Regions from separate parts of the Homo sapiens genome. Here region 1 is linked to region 2. Evidence: promoter capture Hi-C in human tissues and cell types (Jung and others, 2019). All regions are on one chromosome and are shown on one strand. Each heading gives the region's core, a stretch centred on a gene start or on the middle of the fragment in contact. The rest is flanking DNA. Distances are from core to core; before and after follow the strand shown. Region 1 has its middle 7.0 kb from the start of TAT-AS1. Region 2 holds the start of AP1G1 (adaptor related protein complex 1 subunit gamma 1).

Region 1 (4,904 bases), core at 1,922-4,421, 250 kb before region 2:
ACATGTTAGGGATTAATAATCCTAAAATAGTCTAGTTCAAGTGATGACAAGGAACACAGGTGTGGCTTTGGGAGTGGGGCCATTGTGGGGTAGATTGTACAGCTCCTCATGTTTGGAATAAGCAAGAGGCCTTGAGGTTAGAGTGTGGGTGAGGCTATCCACAGAGATGTTGAAATTTCCCAAGTGTTGAAATTTCCCATGTATCAGGCCCTAAATAAATAAGGGAGTGTGCACAGAAAGGATATAAAGTAATTCAGCACATGTTTTAAAGGAAGCTGGTTATTGTGTGAGTCTGGGGGAGTATAGATATGAAAAAAGACAATAAGTTAGAGTCTGGGCTATGTGGGAAAAAAAGCTATTTCAAACAGTGAGTTGGCCGGGTGCAGTGACTCACGCCTGTAATCCCAGCACTTTGGGAGGCCAAGGCAGGCAGATCATGAGGTCAGGAGATCGAGACCATCCTGGCCAACATGGTGAAACCCTGTCTCTACTAAAAATACAAAAATTAGCTGGGTGTGGTGGCACGCACCTGTAATCCCAGCTGCTCGGGAGGCTGACGCAGGAGAATTGCTTGAACCTGGGAAGCAGAGGTTGCCCTGAGCTGAGATGGTGCCATTGCACTCCAGCCTGGCAAGAGAGCGAGACTCTGTCTCAAAAAAAAAAGAACAAACAGTGACTTTAGGGGAAGAGCGAAGTTACAGTTAAGGCAAAGAAGTAACCAGTTTGATGATGGCAGATAATTGTACCTGCTATGGAACAAAGATTTTGGGCAGGGGGAGAACGGAAGGAGGAAACATCAGGATGGAGAGATGTAAGAGAAGTATGGAGACTTCCAAAGCAACATCACAAGAAAGATCATATGAAAATGTTTGGGCTTCAAAACATCTAGATATGATGGATAAAATCTAACAAACGTATTTTCAAATTCAGAGCCAAGCTTGCAAGAGAGTAACAGAATCCCCAAAGAAGCAAAAACAAAGAGGGGCCTGAAAATTTGGAAAATAAGAGTATGCTTATGCTGGTAACATCTCAGTAATCATGGGTTTAGAGTTTAACACTAGTGGAGGAGGACTTAGACCCATGTAAGGCAGGGATTTAAAATTTAGACCTCTCCACAAAGCCAAGCCCTTCCAAATGTTAAGGCTGAGTAACAAGATGGATTATAAAGAAATCTTTCTTATTCTGGCCCCTGGGAAGAAAAAAGAAAACTCTCCCATGACAGTTTGTAAGCATAGGCATTCCTTTACATGGGTTTAGTGTTCAAATGTAACCTACCTGTATGGTCTGGAAACCCCAAAGTTGAGAAATTCACTGAAAAGTGATCCTGATCCATTCCATCAGCAGTTTGTTGTCGTTGTTTTGTTTTGTTTATTTGTTTGTTTTTTGAGATAAAGTCTTGCTCTCGTCCCCCAGGCTGGAGTGTGATGGTGCGATCTCGGCTCACTGCAACCTCCGCCTCCAAGGTTCAAGCGATTCTCCTGCCTCAGCCTCCCCAGTATCTGGGATTACAGGTGCCTGCCACCACACCTGGCTAATTTTTGTATTTTTAGTAGAGATGGGATTTCACCATGTTGGCCAGGCTGGTCTTGAACTCCTGACCTCAGGTGATCTGCCCCCCTGGCCTCCCAAAGTGCTGGGATTACAGGCGTGAGCCACCACGCCCAGCCCCATCAGCAGTTTTAATACTACAAGGAGAGAAAGTCATTGGGGAACCTCTAGCAACCTGCCATATCAGTCAGTATTTTTGTGGCAAAGAAGTATGATCAATAAAATACTTTCAAAGATAAGGATAACGTTAACATAAAACTGGGGTAAAACATAAAACAGAAATACAAGATGAAGAAAGAAAATCATCCTGGCACTTTGGGAGGCCAAAGCAGAAGGATCATTTGAGCCCAGGAGACCAGCCTGGGCAGCATAGTGAGACCCCATCTCTGCAAAAAATACACAAATTAGGCAGGCATGTTGGCATGTAACTATGGTCCGAGCCACTCAGAAGGCTGAGGTGGAAAGATTACTTGAGTCTAGGAGGTCAAGGCTGCAGCGAGCTATGATTGTAATCATGTCATTGCACTCCAGTCTGGGCAACAGAGCAAGATCCTGTTTCAACAACAAAAAAAAGAAGGTAAATTTCTAGTAAATATCCAATATCATCTCTGTTGAAAAATGCATGCTCTAGTTAAATGAACAAGTTAAATGACACCACAAGGAAGCCAACAAACATATCCAGAATGTAGAACATTTTGTAAGACAGCCATTCCTGCAACAAGTCAATGGTATGAAAAGAAAAAAAAAAAAACAGGAGCCTTCTCTAGAGTAAGAGATATTTAAGCTTAAGACATAAAACTAAAAAGTAATGTTTAAACTTTGTTTGAATCCTGATCCAAATAAACCAACTATAAGAAGACATTTTGGAGGCAACCAAAAATATCTTACTATTTGATGTGATGTGGCACTGTGGTTAAGAAATTATGTGTTTAGAGATGTGTACTGAGGCGTATGGGGAGAACTAACGATGTCCAGGATTTGCTTTACAATCTTTTGGCAAAGAAAACAAGAAAAAGAAGGAAGGAACAAAAATGGCAATATCTTGAGAGTCATTAAATCTGAGTGATGGGTATATTGGTGCTAATTATACTACTGCTTCTACTTTTATATATGTTTGAATTTTCAGTCAAGAATTCTAAATTATTTTAGGGAACACATGAACGAAAAAGTGTAAAAACCACTAGTTTATCACACATGCTAATTCTGCTATTTACAGAAACATCTCAGATGTTTTTCTAGAAATTTCTTATTGCTCCCAGTGTGGAAGCCCAACTGACACTTTGCCCTGCTTCCATTATGAAATACCAGAGTCAGGAAAAATAAGCACTTTGTACCCTTAAATGAAACAACAATGATGAGGTCACCCCATCTAGTTCTAGTCCCCAAACTAATTCCTGCAAGTGTGCACTCCTTATCTTTAAAAAACTGAAGTTATCTCTGCCTTTTAGAATGATTATGTCTGAAGTAACATCACAATGTTTGTGACTAGGATGAACATGAGAAAAAGTTACTGTTTTCCACCATGAACAGATAGCTACAAACTGGCAATCTTACATGCTTTTTCTTTTCTTTAAAAACCTAAAAATCCTTTAAATGCCACACAGATATTTGAGTTGATCTCCCTAAAGTCTGACTCCTTTATATCTTTTTTTCCACTCACACAAAAAAAACAGTATTACTGAGACATGATCTACATACCACACAACTCAACCCACTTAAATTGTACAATTCAATGGTTTTTACTTTCTTTAAAGTTGTGTAACCATCACCATTATCAATTTTAGAATATATTCATCACTCCAAAAAGAAACTCTGTACCCATTAGCCATCTCTCTCCATCTCCCACATATGGCCTCACCTCTAGCTCTAGAAGTAACTAATCTATTTTCTGTCTCTATGAGTAATATGATTTGGCTCTGTGTCCTCACCCAAATCTCATGTCGAATTGTAATTCCCAGTGTTGAAGGACAGGCCTGGTGAGAGGTGATTAAATCATGGAGGTGGACTTCCCCCTTGCTGTTCTTGTGATAGAGTTCTCCCAAGATCTGCTTGTTTAAAAGTGTGTAGAACCTCCTCCTACTCCCACTGGCCATGTGAAGATGTCCCTGCTTCCCCTTCACCTTCTGCCATGTGGTAAGTTTCCTGAGGCCTCCCCAGAAGCAGAAAACTATACAGCCTGCAAAACTGTGAGCACAATTAAACCTCTTTTCCTTATGAATTAACCAGTCTCAGGTAGTTCTTCATAGCAGTGTGAGAATGCACTAATACAGAAAATTGGTACTATAGAAGTGGGGCATTACTATAAAGATACCTGAAAATGTGTAAGCAACTTTGCAATTGGATAACAGGCAGAGATTGGAACAGTTTGGAGGGCCCAGAAGATAGGAAGATGGGAGAAAGTTTGGAACTTCCTACAGACTTCTTGAATGGTTGTGACCAAAATGCTGATGGTGATATGGACAGTGAAGTCCAGGCTGAGGAGGTCTCAGATGAAGATGAGGTACTGTGAAACTAATATATCTGAGACAGGTTTCAGTAAATTTAGAAAGTTTATTTTGCCAATGTTGAGGGCACACACCCATCACACAGCCTCAGGAGGTCCTGACAACATGTGCCCAAGGTGGCTGGGGCACAGCTTGGTTTTAGACATTTTAGGGAGACATGAGACATGAGACATCAATCAATATATGTAAGATAAACATTGGTTCTGTCTGGAAAGGTGGGACAACTCAAGCAGGGAGGGGGCTTCCAAGTCACAGGTAAGTGAGAGACAAATGATTGCATTCTTTTGAGTTTCTGATTAGTCTTTCCAAAGGAGACAATCAGATATGCATTTATCTCATTGTGCATAAGGATGACTTTGCATAGAATGAAAGGCAGGTTTGCCATAAGCAGTTCTCAGCTTGACTTTTCCCTTTAGCTTAGCAATTTTGGGGCCCCAAAGTGTATTTTTCTTTCACAGAACTTATTGGGAACTGGAGTAAAGGTTACTCTTGCTATGCTTTAGCAAAGAGACTGGCAGCATTGTGCCCCTGCTCCAGGGACCTGTTGAACTTTGAACTTGAGAGAAATGAGTTAGGGTATCTTTGGAGAAATGCCTATTCAAGTGCCTTTTTAAGTTGGGTCATTTGACTTTTTTGTTGTTGAGTGGCAGGAGTGCTTTATATATTCTAAATGTTAATGCCTCATCAGATATATAATTTTTAAATATTTTCTCCCATTCCATAGGCAGAAGAAAATGCCTTTTCATTTTGATTATGTTCTTTGATGCACAAAGGTTTTTAAGTTCCATTTTTCCTTTTGTTGCCTATGCTTTTGGTGTCATATCCAAGAAATCATTGCCAAATCCAGTATCA
Region 2 (4,803 bases), core at 1,832-4,331:
GGCCAGGTGAGGTGGCTCACACCTGTAATCTCAGCACTTTGCGAGGCCGAGGCAAGAGGATTGCTTGAGCCCAGCCTGGGCAACATGACAAAACACTATCTATACAAAAAATACAAAAATTAGCCCTGCGTGGTAGCACACGCCTGTAGTCCCAGCTACGTGGAGGGCTGAGGCAGGAGGATCGCTTGAGTCCAGGAGGTCCAGGCTGCAGTGAGCTGAGACCACTGCACTCCAGCCTGGGCAACAGAGTGAGACCCTGTCTCAAACAATAAAAATAATAAAAAAAAAAAAAAAGAGTTTTTATAAATCATAAAGAAGTTGGTTTTGTTTGCATACCACTGATTTTTAAAACTCCTTTTTTAAATAAACACTGGGGTGAAATATCACCAAGGCATTCCTGGCAAATTCTGTACTTTAAAGTTTCACTCTAAAATCTGCCCTCAAATCTAGAACTGCTATCAATGACAGAGGTCAGACCAAAGAACAAGCAACTGCCCCCAAAAGAAAACGGAGGTTTCCTAAACGCAAAGCAGACATTCAAATATGCACTGATCAATGGTGCACTAAACAACACTTTGCTAGGAATTTGTTAAGGCAAAAGGACCCTTTCTACAGTGAATGCAAACTATCTAAGAATGAATTTTTAAAAGTTTAATATTTTTAAATATTTTGGTAGAGACGGAGTCTCATTAGGTTGCCCAGGCTGGCCTCCAACTCCTGGGCTCAAGGGATCCACCTTCCACCTCCCAAAGTGTTGGGATTACAAGCATGAGCCACTGAGCGCCCGCCTGAATGACATTTAAATACCAATATATTAAAGCATGAAAAACACTGAGTTAACTAACATCTATGTGATAGCTCTTCTAACACCTTACTTGAAAAGTCTAAGTCAGAAATGGAACATTTCAGTAGTAACTGCGAGGGCATACTTACTAAATGAGTGAGCATTACATAGGTGTTCAGTGTTTGACAGTTCCTTTAAACCAAAAGAGAAAATTCCATTGCTTCAGGGTAATACAGAACTCACGTATCTAATAGTAACTAATATATTTTTGAAAAATCTGCTTAAATAACAAGATCACTGAGTATTTAAACTGAAAATATTGTTTTCTTCTGAGACATCATATGACCTATAGAGGAATTTATCTACAATCTCATTTCAATAACCTGATAATAATAATGCATCTATAAGTGGCTTAGCAATATTAAAAAGCTTGACTCAATTCAAGTTATAAATTTAAACTTCAACCACTAGACTGTGATCTCAAATAAGTTAATTTCTCTTTTGCAGATGTGAAAACCCAGGCTGAGATGAAATAAGGGTGATTCAATCACACTCGCCTAACTTGAAACGTAGGAAATGTATCAGTGAATAACTGTGAAATACTTTTTGCCAGGCACGGTGGCTCACGCCTGTAATCCTAGCACTTTGGGAGGCCGAGGCGGGCGGATTACCTGAGCTCAGGAGTTCGAGATCTGCCTGGGCAACATGATGAAACCCCATCTCTACTAAAATACAACAACAAAAAATTAGCCGGGCGTGGCGGCGTGTGCCTGTAGTCCCAGCTACTTGGGAGGCTGAGGCAGGAGAACTGCTTGAACCCGGGAGGCGTAGGTTGCAGTGAGCCGAGACCGTGCCACTGCACTCCAGCCTGGAGACAGAGGGAGACTTCGTCTCAAAAAATAAATAAATAAAAATAAAGACATACTTTTTATTCAAGCATGCTAGACTGCAAACATGCCTTTAGAATAAAAGTGACGAGATTACGAGTACTTAGAGGGTTCATATTTTTCAAACGTGAAAGTTAGGGTGTGTGACAAGTTAGGTATTTGACAAGTATTCTAGGGAACGGTGGAAGTGAATATTTAAAATTCAGCTATCCCCAGAAAAACCCAATACATGAAATCATTACAAGTATTTTTTAGAATCAGTCAGCAAAGATCATTACTGTACAAACACTTCAAAGTTAAGGTCACTAAGAAAGCACTAACTCCTCCCTTCTGTTAACTAATCACTGTAAAGCAGCCCAACTCTCCTTTCTACCTACCTCAGATTAATATTTTTCTCCATGGACAGATTTCCGTGCTCAGGGATATATAATAGGGGAGAAAAAAAAATACCACACAAGTGTCAGTAAGCACCAAAAAGCTAAGTATTCAGCACAGGGAGGGAATCCACATATGAGAAAACATTTGACAGCTCTTGCCTCCCAAAAGCCATTTAATCTGCTTCATAAACATAATCTGCTTCATAAACATTACCCTGAGCGAGTGGTTCGATGGATCTCCTACACCGAGTCCTAACCGGGAAACACAATCAACCGAACCGTCCCGACTCTTTCAGGCAATCAGGAAGACCGGGAGAATTATTAGACGCTGACGTCCGCAGGGCCAGGAGCTGAGAAAAGGGTAAACAGTATACTCGCAGGTAGGTTGAAAAAAACAAAACAACAACATATACACACACACACGAAAAATTGGGAAAGAAGTTGGTCGGAAGGTTAGAGAGAGGCGAGGCCGATGTCCGGTTCCGAGAGGACGGCACTGCAGGGGCAGGCAGCGATTAACTGGGCATTTGGATATGCTGGGAGTTATCTGACAGACCTGACACGGGTACAAGACACAAGAACGCTGATACGTGGCTCAGAGAAGACACGCGGGGGTGGGGCCCGCCCCGCTAAACCCCAGGCTCCCTGAATGAGCCCTCAAAGATCGCAGCCTGAGAAAGTCAAGGGTTCAAGGAGGCCCGTACCGGCGGGGCAACGCCACAACACGGAACGCCGCGGCGCGCGGAACCTCCCGGTCCGAGGCCTCGGGGTCGGCCCTCCAGAAGTCGGAGCAGCCCCTGGGGCTCCCGGCCTCTCCTGGCCCAGCTTCTCTGTCTTCTCTTCTCAACACCCACAGCCTGGGACTGGACCCCTGAAACTGAAAGGAAGCTTCCGGTCGAGCGCCCGCGGCAGCGGCGGGGCAAAAGCAGCAATATGCTCTCAGCGCCGGGAGTGACACTCACCGGCCCGAAACCTCGAATGAAACCAGCAGCTCCGGGGGCGGCGGCAGCAGTGGCAGCAGGAACCGAACATCCAAAATGGCGGCTCCCTCGGCCTCACCACCGCTACCGCAGGCGGAGGGATCCTGAGGAAGGAGGGAGTTTTTAACTAACTTCACACACTATTGAGGAAACTTCGCTCCCTGTCCTCCTCTCCTGGTCGTTTCCGTGTCCTCGTACTGCAACTTATCGTGCCTTTTCTCTCGAATTATCCAAGAACTCGGACCCTGCCGAGGACTATTTGCCAAGGAGGAGGCGACTGCTCCTGGCAGAGCGACGCAAACGTAGCAAGGATCGGGGCTGTCACTGATGACGCGAGACGCTGCTGCCGAGTCACCGCTGCGATGAGTCTGAGCGAGAAAGATCCGGCCTACCCCGTAGCGGACGGACATTGGTTCCGCTTGGTGAGGGGGTAGGGGGGTGGGGGGTAGGGGGGTGGGGGGGTAGGGGGGGTGGAGCTGGGCTACCAGGAAGCGGTGGAGCCACCTGGAGGGGGCGGAGCTAAGTCAGGTAGCCCAGGAAGTGAGAGCAAGCGAGACAGGTGGGGGCGGAGAAGACAGCAGGGCTGAAAAGGTCTTCGTCCACGGGAATCCCGAACTCTTTGCTGTCTCCTTTAAGATTTTTGCTTTCTTTATAACTTAAGGAGCATGCTCCAGGTGGTATTCTATGGTTTTATGGTGTCTTTGCAACATATTTTATGAAGAGTTAAGAGGATGACTGAAAAGAATGGATTCCACGCCCGGTACCGCGGTGCTTGCACTGCTCAAGTCACTTAAACTCTCCAGGGATTCAATTTCCTCATATGTAGAAAGAAGACTTGGACTCATGTTAGCTGAAACCCTTACAGAATGGGCTTTCGGTCTATGACTCCATGAATTAATAACCAGGGCCAAAGAAAGTCTAACCAGACAGTTCCTAACCTGATAAATAATTACTAACATATGACGTGAGTCTTTTCCATGTGAATGTAAAGAGGGCCTGATATCTTGGCCTGTTTAAAGGAAAGGTGACCTACCTAGACTAAAATCCTTCTGCTAGATTGGCAACAAAGTACAATACAACACAGCAGCAGGCTGGGTGCCAAAGAGAACAGAACCAACCACACAAAAAAAATTTTTTTTTTTTTTTTGAGACAAAGTCTCGCTCTGTTGCCCAGGCTGGAGTGCAGTGGCGGGATCCCGGCTCACTACAACCTTGCCTCCCGGGGTCAAGCAATTTCTCGTGCTTCAGCCTCGCAAGTAGCTGGGATTACAGGCTCCCGCCACCACGGCCGTCTAATATTTGCATTTTTAGTAGAGAGAGGGTTTCGCCATGTTGGCCAGGCTGGTCTTGAACTCCTGACCTCAGGTGATCTGCCTGCGTCGGCCTCCCAAAGTGTGGAGATGACAGGTGTGAGCCACCGGCCTGGCCAGAACTAACCACAAATCTTGAGTTTAGGATTTGGGTGTCATAGAGAGAAGGTTGCACTTTTTTCCTTAGTCATTTTCATGCAGGGATTTCAAAACACTTAACAAAAATTGCTCTAAGTAGGCCGGGCACAGTGGCTGACGCATGTAATCCCAGTACTTTAGGAGGCCGGGGTGGGCGGATCACCTGAGGTCAGGAGTTCGAGACCAGACTGGCCAACATGGTGAAACTCCATCTCCACTAAAAATACAAAATTAGCCGGGCATGGTGGTGGGCACCTGTAATCCCAGCTACTCGGAAGGCTGAGACAGGAGAATCGCTTGAACCTGGGAGGCAGAGGTTGCAGATAG

The links. Contacts are between HindIII fragments. The study calls those that stand out against the background at their distance.
Region 1: a contact is called between a fragment that was not itself captured here and the fragment with the promoter of AP1G1 in region 2, in 1 of the 25 tissues and cell types used here (thymus).

What each region holds. Positions count from the first base shown.
Region 1 is chr16:71,555,534-71,560,437 of GRCh38, forward strand. No RefSeq gene overlaps it. Among named protein-coding and RNA genes, the nearest start is that of TAT-AS1, 7.0 kb to the right of the region's middle. The HindIII fragment of the contact is 5,914 bases long and covers 215-4,904 here.
Region 2 is chr16:71,805,753-71,810,555 of GRCh38, forward strand. It overlaps AP1G1 (adaptor related protein complex 1 subunit gamma 1), which reads right to left and starts at 3,082. Exons shown (of 23, transcript NM_001128.6): 1 at 3,011-3,082. It overlaps LOC124903714 (a long non-coding RNA gene), which reads left to right and starts at 3,206. Exons shown (of 2, transcript XR_007065110.1): 1 at 3,206-3,450. RefSeq lists enhancers at 2,213-2,860, 2,804-3,493, 4,054-4,133. The HindIII fragment of the contact is 19,553 bases long and covers 2,075-4,803 here.